Regions from separate parts of the Homo sapiens genome. Here region 2 is linked to region 1. The links are contacts of gene promoters, found by promoter capture Hi-C in human tissues and cell types (Jung and others, 2019). All regions are on one chromosome and are shown on one strand. The core of a region is centred on a gene start or on the middle of the fragment in contact, and the rest is flanking DNA. Distances in the headings are between cores, read along the strand shown. Region 1 holds the start of FAM162B (family with sequence similarity 162 member B). Region 2 has its middle 14 kb from the start of GPRC6A.

Region 1 (5,600 bases), core at 1,429-3,928:
GAGTTCCAGACCGGCCTGGCCAACATGGTGAAACCCCGTCTCTACTAAAAAACTACAAAAATTAGCTGGGTGTGGTGGCAGGCACCTGTAATCCCATTACTTGGTAGGCTTAGGCAGGAGAATCGCTTGAACCCAGGAGGCAGAGGTTGCAGTGAGCCGAGATCGCACCACTGCACTCCAGCCTGGGCAACAGAGGGAAACTCCATCTCAAAAAATTAAATAAATAAAATAAAAATGTGCTGTCCTCATTAGAAAAAGAAATAAAGGAATATAATTACTGTATTATTATATTAAAAGTTTATTCAAATTTTTTTTTACTTGTTCTAATTATAGAACTGAAAAAAATCTCTAATGCAGCTGTAAGTAATTTATTTATGTAGACTACTGCCAAATAGTGATATTTTAATCCCATCAGGAATAGAGAACAGCAAATTGTTCTTTCTCTCATGACTTGAGCTTATTCTGTTGACCTGTAGTTCTGCAATACTGGAGAAGCTCGAAATAGAAAATCCTGTGTATATTTATGACATTTGATTCCCTCCAGGGAAATAAACTTATTTCCCTTGTTTAATATTTCTTAGTGAATTATTAACGATTGGTTGTTTCTCAGTGATGGCTTTCTCTAGCTCTATGGATACTCCCTCTCAGTGATGTGAAGACAAATAAAATACTAATAGAAAAAACCACATTTAAATAATGCAAGAATCTTCAAGTACCATAATGCTGGAGCAATATTAGCTATGGCAACATACTTTCTCAGGCAGGAATTCATTCAGTTGAGTTTTATAAACACTTATTTGGAGACCGCTATGTGGTAAGCAACATGATAGACACTGAAAGTATGAAGTTTAAAAGGACATAGAATGTCCTCAAGCATCTCAGTCTTTTCGTAAACTAGCCTAGGTGCAGACTATTCTGTTTTCGAAGACTTGTATTCATCTATTCATTTATTTAACAAATACTTATTAAATATCTACTAAGTGCCAATTTTTCAGCTATATCTTGGGAATATAATCACAACTCCTGAAGGTCAGGGAGCTCCTAGTTCCCCACAGGAGATTTCATAAATTAAAATGCCCTTGTGTTTTGGGACTAAAGAATGTGACGGGGAAAGAAATCATTATCTTCTGAAGTATTATTACACACCAGGCACATTTAGAAGGACATTGCTAACCATGGTTTCTAAATATCTTCTCACTCTACTCCTGCTTATTCTTTTTCACCTTGTTTTATTTTTCTTCATCTTCACCTGATGTCATCACTGCTCCATCCCCAGCTCTGAGAGGTAGCTGGCACGTAGCTGGTTACTGGTAGTCATTGCATGAATAAACCTAAAAGATAGGAATTCTGGTTTTACAAAAGAGACCAAGACTTATAACTTAAATGATTTACTGCTCATGATTGTGCAACTTTTAAGTCACAAATCCGGGATTTAAACCTAGGTGTGAAGGCAAAGCCCATGTTCCTTCTGCAAGCGCTCCTCTAAATGTATGTCTTCACAGAGCTATTAACCCCTCTTTTTTTGTTTAACACGGTTATGTAAAAAGAAAAAAAAACTGAGCTGGCAGTTACAGAAAAGTTATAGCTTTCAAGAGCCTGACAGTCTAGTTAGGAAGCAAAATATCTAGAAATCCAACAAGTGCAAAGCAGTGTCTAGATAAGGAGGGAAACTCACAGGCAGTAATAGCAGAGGAGGGTGAGCTCGGCCTGGTGCTGGGCTGATGAGCACTTTGACTTGGCAGGAGGTCTGTTGTCTGTGGAACAAGATAAGTAAATTGCTTGTACAACCCTTCTCTCCAATCATTGAATCTGAATCCCTGTTACCATTTAATGCCTGAAAATAGTAGATTCTTTTACCTTTTAGCATAGAGGAGATGGTGGAAGGTGACAGAAGAAAGGCACATTTTGAAGGGAGTGTGGAGAGTTTGTGGGCTAAGAGATGAAGAGGTAGGAAGCTGGCATGGCGGCTCATACGTGTAATCCCAGTGCTTTGGGAGGCAGAGCCCAGCTGATAGCTTGAGGCCAGGAGTTGGAGACCAGTCTGGACAACATAGTGAGATCCCATCTCTTAAAAAAAAAAAAAATAGCGGAGCGTGCTGGCGCACGACCAAAGCCCTAGCTACTCTGGAGGCTAAGGTGGGAGGACTACTTGAGTCCAGGAGTTCGACGTTACAATGAGCTATCAGCATGCCACTGCACTTTAGCCTGAGTGACAGAGCCAGAGACTGTCTCTGAAAAGAAGAAGAAAAGATAGAGAAAGGCACTTGGAGGAATTGAGATTGTTTTCCGTAGGAAAGAGAAAAGGTATGGGGGTGGGAGACGATGAGGTGAGGAGCTAACTTCAAGAAATCTCATCCAGAAGTTAGTGGAGTGCCCTTAACACTTAATTGGGAAATGTCTTCAGTTTCCTGCACTTGAAGGATTGTTGTCTCTTCCTGGAAGAGAGGATTTAGATTTATTCTCCTGGGGAACAAACGATGGAATCAAAGGCTAAAAGCCTGGCGGGAATACATTTCTACTCAATACAAAGAATTTAAAAGGAGCTACACGCACTGCCTCAGGCGGTGGTGAGCCTGTTTCAAACAGAGGCAGGCTGCTTCCTGAGGAACCAGCCCCTCGGGGCTTGACGCCCTGATCCCGGGTCGCTGGCCGGGGGCGGAGACGGGGATAGCGAGCTGAGTGTGCGAGCGCCAGGGGTTCCAGCTGCACGTCCCAGGCTCTCCAGCGCGCGGCAGGCCGGGGCGGGACGAGGAGAGCTGCGGGGACAACGCCTGTGGCTGGGTCCGGAGGTGCGGGTGCGGCGCGGGACAAGCGGGCAGCATGCTCAGGGCGGTCGGGAGCCTACTGCGCCTTGGCCGCGGGCTAACAGTCCGCTGCGGCCCCGGGGCGCCTCTCGAGGCCACGCGACGGCCCGCACCGGCTCTTCCGCCCCGGGGTCTCCCCTGCTACTCCAGCGGCGGGGCCCCCAGCAATTCTGGGCCCCAAGGTCACGGTGAGCCAGGGCTCCGACGGGGAGGTCCTGGGAGGGAGGAGGTTGCGGGAGGGCAGCGAGGGGCCGGCCCGGGAGTCGGCTTGAGGGCGCGCTGATCCTCTGTGCCGGTGCGTCAGTTCCCGCGTCCATCTGGGTTGCTTTCGCTGCAGGGGAGATTCACCGAGTCCCCACGCAGCGCAGGCCTTCGCAGTTCGACAAGAAAATCCTGCTGTGGACAGGGCGTTTCAAATCGATGGAGGAGATCCCGCCTCGGATCCCGTAAGTGTGGCGACCGCCGCGCGAAGGAGAGTCGGTCCCCGGCCGCAAGGGTGCGGGGTGACCCACCTTCCGACCGCGGCCACCTAGGAGCGAAAGCGGCCGCAGTGCCAACACTTCGCAATATCACCCACCACACACGGAGTTTACCCACACACACACCCCGCCTCCAGTGCGGTGTGTCAAGAGTCAATTAAGCTTACAGGGAGATTGCAGAAGGTGGGTGAAAACTGAGAGGTTCAGGGGACACTTCCAGCACCGCCCAGATTGCCGGTCCCCAGCAAGCTCCGAACTGGGAGGCAGTGGGGCTCTTGTGCCAAACAGGCCACGGTCCTCGCGAGCATCCGGATGGCTGCCGGGACGCCAGACCGCAATCCAGGCTTTGGCCGGGGGCGTCCCCCTACCCCACCCAAGGAAGGGGTTCTCTGATCTTGGCTTGCGGGGCGGCTGTGGCGGGGGGGTCTCTGGAAAAAAGACGCATCCATGCGGCCTCCTCTTCTGGGGCAGGAGACGCCTGGCGGACGTGTTTCTGCAGCCCTCTAGGCTCCGGGTTTACTCAGGGTGGGACGCGCGGGAGTGTCAGCACTGTGGGCCTCTTCAGCATGCTAAACCCACCAAGACAGATGATAAAACTCAAACTAATAACTCCCCCTCTAAGGTAATGTAACCTGTAAAATAAATGCTAATAATAAGTAAATGTAACCTGTAAAAAAATCTTTCCAAAGTTTCTGTTTCTGCCAAGCCCAAAAACCTTCGCAGCATTTTTACAAGGGATTGGGTAAAAAAGAGAGGGACGGAAACTAAAAATAAAATCAATCTACTACTTTTTAAGTTTATCTTTTAAAAATAAAAGACTAAAACCATAACGTGAAAGAAGGATTTTAGATATTCTGTATATTTGTACAATGTAATGAATGCCTATTAGAATGGATAATGGAAACTGGGCCTATATTTCTGTTTTTCACATGGTGCCTGCCATGTTATTGTTTATAAACAATTGCAGTTTATCAGTTACCAAAGCATCTCAGATAGCTAGGGGGTGGGGTGGGAGAACATGGCAGGAAATGTACACTCAGTAATGAATTCTGAAGCATTTTCGTTCTTTTATTGGAGCAAGTCACCAAATGAGAAATGGACATGGAATTTGAAATAACACTGCATTTGAATCCGTTTTCAGTATTTATTCAACTACAGAGGCACTTTCTAAGATTATTTTTCCTCGAGATCTATAGACTCCAAACTACAGACTTAGCTGAAAGCAAAAGTTAGCCTCAGAAAAGTCTTTATCATCATAAGCTCTGGTTATCAAATTTTAATTGATGCCTGAAAATTTAATACTATAAATGCCAAAGAAGTAAAAAAAAAAAAAAAAATTAAAATAAGTAAGCCACCACCCTCAATTGGTTTGAATTTTTATTTCTAGTGGCCTAACCAAGTAATCAAGAGTGTAAAGAACCAACATTATTGCATATTGTTTGTCAAGAAAACCTATGCCCAGTATTGCATTTAACATAGCTGTATTTGTGAACAGACTCATTTTACAGAAATAATGTAATTTCCCCAAGATCATAGTCAAAAGATGTATTATAAACAGGAGCATTTCACTAAGAACAGGATGCCTATAAAAAGCATTGCAGTTTTGCATTGGAAACATAAAAGTATTTGAGTATTTTTCATTTTATTATTTTTCTATAACTTTTTAAGCATTACTATTTAAGAGAGATATTCCTGTTAAGCTAAGTGTCACACTTACAATGTAAACAGCTTTTACCTTTTAATGGACATATAATGAACAAGTGACCTATAATTTTTGTATCATACACTAATTGTGTTTAATAATAACTGTACTTTGTCTTGTTTTTCTCAGTGCTAAACTAATTTGTTATAATAGATTAAAGCCAAATGGCTGGGTAAAAAAGATCAGAGCTTCTAGGTTCCATCTGGAACAAAAGTTAGCAGCAAATATAATCTAATAATTTCTCCATACTCACTAATTGGACCTGTTTGCAACTAACATCTTAAAACTTACATCACTCTGCCTAAAATCTAAAGAAAATAGGCTAGATAGGAGTTTTCTGTAGTCTTTTAACCAGTGGAAAATTTAAAAAGTTTTCTGTTTTTAAGAGAAAATGCAACTTTGTCTTTCTGGATTTTTTTTTTCAATGTAACTACACTCTATTTAAACTGCACATAGAGAGGAAAGAATACCAATGAATATATTATAATGAATGAAATTCTTTAAATATGCATATTTATAATCTGCCACTTCATATCATTGAAAATTGTTAAAGTTTATTTCAACGTAAAAGTCCCACAGGCATGATGCCTTTTGTATTACTACTTTGTAAGTAGT
Region 2 (5,600 bases), core at 853-3,352, 78 kb before region 1:
CATATGCTTAATTTGTAAAAATTAATCAAGATGTTGTGCTGTTACCTGTACATATATCACACCACAATAAAAATAGTTAAATACATCCCCAGTTCAGCATAACATAGTAAAAATGGAAAATAAGATGAATGGAAAATATGAAGTGTAACCTGAGAGAAACACTGTTTAGCTACAAAGAAACCAGAAAGACTAATGATAAACTTATCTTCAATATGCAATTGATAGCTTTCACACCAACGAGTAAAAGTGAAAAAATAAAGAAAACTTTATCATTTCAGTATGAGGCAGTAAAGGAGGGTGGCAAGCAAAGGAAAAGAAGAGATGGAAGTAACTTCAAATGTAGTAGGAATCACACTACAGGTAAATGGATTAATTTACCTATTAAAATCAGAGAATTTTGAAATCAGGTAGATTTTTTTTAAAAAACTCTTAACTGTATGTGCTTACAAGACAATCCTAAAACAAAATGGAACACAAAAGTCAAAAAATTATGGAGTAATATATACCAGGTAAGTGCTAGCCAGAAGAAAGCTGGCAGTATAATTTTAGTATCAGACAAAATAGGATTTAAGACAAAACATGATACTAGGGATAAAATGAAAAACCCACGAAGAGAATGTAACTATCATAAACATGTATATGTACACCTAGTAATGTAGCTTGAAATATATACAGCAAAACTGGCCAAATTTCAAAATGACATTAACAAATCCCCATTAGTGGATAGCTTTATTTTAACATAGTTTTTATACATATGATATACCTGCATAAATGTAAAGAAACTGTAAGTGCACAGTTCAATTAATTTTCATTTATCAAATTCTGTACCTGGCACCCAGACTGAGAAACAGATCATCAGCATTCCAGAATCCCCTTGTTCCGTTTCCAGTTACTTGAACTCAAGGGTAAACATTATCTCAAATTCTAACACTATAGGATGATTTTGATTGCTTTTTAACTCTATATAAGTGGAATAATATACTAAGCATTCTTTTGTGTTTAGCTTCTTTTTTTCAGCATTATGTTTGGGAGCTGTATCCAATTGTTGCATCTAGATATAGTTAGTATGGGTGAATATACCAAAATTTGTGTTTACATTCTACTGTTGATGGACATTGCAGTTGTTTCTAGTTTTGCATCTCACAAATTGAGCTACTATAAAGATTATTATAAGTGCCTTTTGGTGAAGTTACATGTATATTTCTGTTGGGAGGCTTTCCTAGGAGTGAAATTTCTGGGTAATAGGTGTATGCATGTGTTTAACGTTAGTACATACTGGCAAACAGCTTTGTAATGTTGTAGTAATTTATATTTCCCCCAGGAGTGAATGATAAATCTGGCTGCTTTGAATCCTTACCAACAGTTTTTCTTTCTTTCTTTCTTTTCTTTTTCTTCCTTATTTTATTTTATTATTTTTTATTTTTTTGAGACAGAGTCTCCCTCTGTTGCCCCGGCTGGAGCGCAGTGGCACGATCTTGGTTCACTGCAACCTCCACCTCCTGGGTTCAAGCAATTCTCCCACCTCAGCCTCCTGAGTAACTGGGATTACAGGAGCCCGCCACCACATCTGGCTAATTTTTGTGTTTTTAGTAGAGACAGGGTTTCACCATGTTGGCCAGGCTTGTCTTGAACTCCTGACCTCAGGTGATCCACCCGCCTCAACCTCCCAAAGTGCTGGGATTACAGGTGTGAGCCACCATGCCTGGCCCCAGTACGTTTTCATTTTAACCATTCTGAATCAAGCACTGGTATTTGTTGTTTTAACTTTTATTTCAGTAAATGAAGTTGCACCTCTTTTCATACGTCTATTGGTTCTTTGAATATCCTTTTATGTGAAGTTTCTTTAAAGTCTTTTGTCTATTTTCCTACTGGGTTGAATGCTTTTTCCTTATGGATTTATAAGAGTTTTTTTAATGTTTATTCTAGATAGGAATACTTTGTAGGATATATCTAACCATGGGAGATTGATAGCTCAAGCAAAAGAGCAAAAACAGTAAGAATAAATAATATTTAGGAGCGTCATGATATGTATTTTTAAGACTGACAAATAGAGAATTTGCATCCTTTTTAAGCATACATAGGCTGTTTATAAAAATTGACCATGTCACAAAGAAAGTCTTAATAACAGCTTAAAAAAATCAGTATTATACAGTACTGATTTATACTTGTTATCAGTATATAATGAGATCAGATCATATTTTCTAGCTATTAAAATATAAATCAACAATAAAACACCAGTTTTTTTAAAATGCTCCCTTAGTGCCCTGTAATAAATGACTGGACTTGAAGCTACTTTGGAAATTAGGACTATAAAAGGTTTACCCATCATGATTATGGCTCTGTGAGAGGAAGCATGTGGGAAGACCAAAAGTAACTAGTGGAAAATCAGTGGCAGCACATCCATTTTCCAGGTTTAGGAAATGCTGCAGGCTATGTCTCTCTAGGCTAAATAAAGGCTGAGATGTGAGAGCGCTAGAGAAAATAAATAAATAAATAATCTGACCACTGTTCTTAATTCAACCCAGTGTTTCACATTTTATTCATACATAAAAATTCTTTTATCAAAGGACAACTATTAACATCTTAAGGAACAGTTTGGAAAAACTAACCTAGAGATTTTAATTCTTTGTCTCTTCCTCTTGTAGCTCACATAAAACGCTTTATTTGATTTTCCTGGTACCCAAACTAGGAAGTCATCAGAAGACTTTTGCTAGCATTCTGTCATTCTTTGACTCTGTAACTCATTAATGTTTTGTTTTTCTTATATCTCCTGGAGGATTTTTAAAGTGGAGTTAGGGGTTTTTTTTGCTTACTTTATGATCACGAGAAAATGCTTTCATCATCTTTTGTTTACTAAAGCAAAGTATAATGGTTATAAACTAACTATGAAAGTTAAATGTAAAAATACACTAAAAGATAGTAACAAAGTTCAAAAGTTGGAAAATGTTAATTATTACTCTTTTCCTGTTTTTTTCTTTACTGTCTTTGAAGACAAATGGGGGAAGCCTTTGATCATCTGTGTTTTCCAAAATACATATTTTCTGTTACTATTAGATAAACACAAAAACTGAACTATGAAGTTCAAACCAAATGTTTCAACCACATCTCATTAAAAGCAATGTTTACATACTTAGTAGGAGAAAAGAAAAACAATTTGCATTTTATCTTTTATCCTATTTTATCTTAGTATTCTAGGATAAATATATTAATAGTATAAAATATTGAGAAATAGTACACAGTTTTCTTGAAATTATGTCTACTTCAAATTTCAGTATATATAGCCAATTAATTTGACTTCCTGAATCTGCTCCAGAATCTTTAGTATATCTGTAGATGGAAATTAAGAAAGGAAAAAATATCTATAAATGTTAGAGCTGACAATTTTTCTAGTAATTTTGGCAGGATAGACACTTGATCTGAATAAAAGCAGAACTAAAGATTCATCCTTACCTTTTGTAAAGTGTAAATTTTATTTATCTCATAGAAAGGTACATCTTAGTAGAAAAGTGATTTATAAATCATAAGTGCTCATTTCTAGGGAGTTAACAATTTGAAATTCCTTGGACAGAATAAGTATTAAATATTGCTTTAAGTATCAGATATTATTTTTTCAAGATCAATTTGTTCTGCAAGTCTTTGTGGCACACCTACTAATGGCCAAACAGGGTGTTTGGCACTTGGAATTGTACTTGAATAAAAACTTCAAGGTATTCAAATTTAGTGGAAAACATAGATGGATGGCAAATTGATACAACAATATGCAACAGTTATTAACACATAACTGACTTCCACTTTTGGGAAGAAAGTGGCATAATATTTTTCAAGTGCTGAAAGAAAAGAACTGTCAAGTCAGAATCATCTACCAGTGAAAACATTTTTCAAGAATGAAAGGAAATTCAAGACATTCAGAATTGAAGGAAAACAGAATTTATCATAGCAGGCCTATCCTAACAAAATGACTGGAAGGAAATTCTCCAAATAGAAAGGAATGATTTAAAAAAGTGTTTTAAAGGAACCCAGGATTTGTTTTAATCAGATATGGTAAGACACACAGATACAGAAATGACTGTCATGAAGGAAGAAGTTTTTCATACTAACAGATTCCTAGAAACAGGAGGCTTGGCATGCTATGCAGGGCCGCAATGGGAAGTAATGCAGTCCATCAGTATGCAGAGGGAGATCGACTAGGGGTGAGCAGAACATGAGCTAGGAGCCTTTATTCTGGTTTCCAAGAGAAGGAACAGGAGATGATGGGTAAGCAGGTGTAGAATTGGCTAGTTTGCATAATTTCGGTGGGCTCTAGAAATTGGAACTATTGCTAGCTATCTGTTACCTGGCACTGGAATGATTAGGGCAGCCGGATAATGGCCCAGAGTGTGAGAGGCTGACAAAGTGCGTTGTTGGGGACATGGGCTCTGGTTTGGTTGGTTTGGATGTAAATGGTAAGTTTTTTACTATCGTTAGGAATTACCTAGCCCTGGGAGGGGCAGTCTCTCCAGGGTCAACAAGGCCCCAAGATACCAATGTACAAAAATCAGGATAAAAAATATATAATTAACACAAGAAGAAATCCTGAAACACCAGAAAAGAAGAGAGGACAATGGAGAGTAAAAATGTGGGTAAATAAAACACATCATCATTTTTCTCTTGAGTTCCCTAAATTACAATTGACAAATGAAGCAAAAATTATAACACAGGCTGCTGTAAAGTATACAAGCCCTGTGCATGTTTTGTTACATTTACACTAAGTACAGTCATGTATCATTTAACAACAGGAATATATTCTGAGAAATGCATCATTAGGTGATTGTATTGTGGTGTGAACATCATAGAGTATATTCAGACAAACCTAGATGGTATAGCCGACTATACACCTAGGCTATATTGTATAGCCTATTGCTCCTGAGCTACAATGCTGCAAACAATTGTAAGGCAATTGGAAGTATTTGTGTATCTAAAGATATCTAAAGATAGAAAAGGTACAGTGAAAATAATTTATTATAATATTAGGAGACTGCCACTGTCATATATGTAGTCCATTGTTGACAGAAGCATTATCTGTGCATGACTATACTTCATTTCTTGAACATGCAAAATAAGTAGTTAAGTCAGGGGACAATGTGTAAAAAGGCACAGCGAGTATGAAGCACCTTCAATGTGGCTTCAGAATAGGGAGGCAAGGGGAGATCATCAGGGGATAAGCTGGAGGAGGACTGGGGTCTAGGTTGTGAAGAGTCATGCATGAGTCACTGAGGAACTGAAAGTTAGGAGTTTTGTGGCTGAAGATGTCCAAGCAGTGGGTAATGAATCATGCAGAAGAAATACGTGCTGAAATTTGTATTTTAGGTTTATTTTGATGGGATGATACTAATAGCTTTATATGTGGTAACAATAACAATATAAACATTATTACTATACATTATGTTTTTAGGATCTAAATTTAATAAATTTCAGAAATATTTCAAATATTACAATATTAACCTGATAAATCCACAGTGACTCAGGCATCAGTCTGGAGGTGGCCATTTATATGACTAACAAATATTTAATTTATCCCCCACTACTTCACCAAAACTATTCTTGTCAAGGTTATCAATGCC

Evidence for each region. The method cuts DNA at HindIII sites, captures the fragments that hold promoters and counts their contacts. A contact is called where the count stands out against the background at its distance.
Region 2: a contact is called between a fragment that was not itself captured here and the fragment with the promoter of FAM162B in region 1, in 2 of the 25 tissues and cell types used here (H1 embryonic stem cells and mesendoderm cells).

What each region holds. Positions count from the first base shown.
Region 1 is chr6:116,762,797-116,768,396 of GRCh38, reverse strand. It overlaps FAM162B (family with sequence similarity 162 member B), which reads left to right and starts at 2,678. Exons shown (of 4, transcript NM_001085480.3): 1 at 2,678-2,992; 2 at 3,142-3,250. The coding sequence starts at 2,821. It overlaps LOC105377963 (a long non-coding RNA gene), which reads right to left and starts at 2,029. Exons shown (of 3, transcript XR_942910.3): 1 at 1,858-2,029; 2 at 1,676-1,754; 3 at 377-1,331. RefSeq lists an enhancer at 3,143-3,657. The HindIII fragment of the contact is 7,101 bases long and covers 1-4,900 here.
Region 2 is chr6:116,839,939-116,845,538 of GRCh38, reverse strand. No RefSeq gene overlaps it. Among named protein-coding and RNA genes, the nearest start is that of GPRC6A, 14 kb to the right of the region's middle. The HindIII fragment of the contact is 7,759 bases long and covers 1-5,600 here.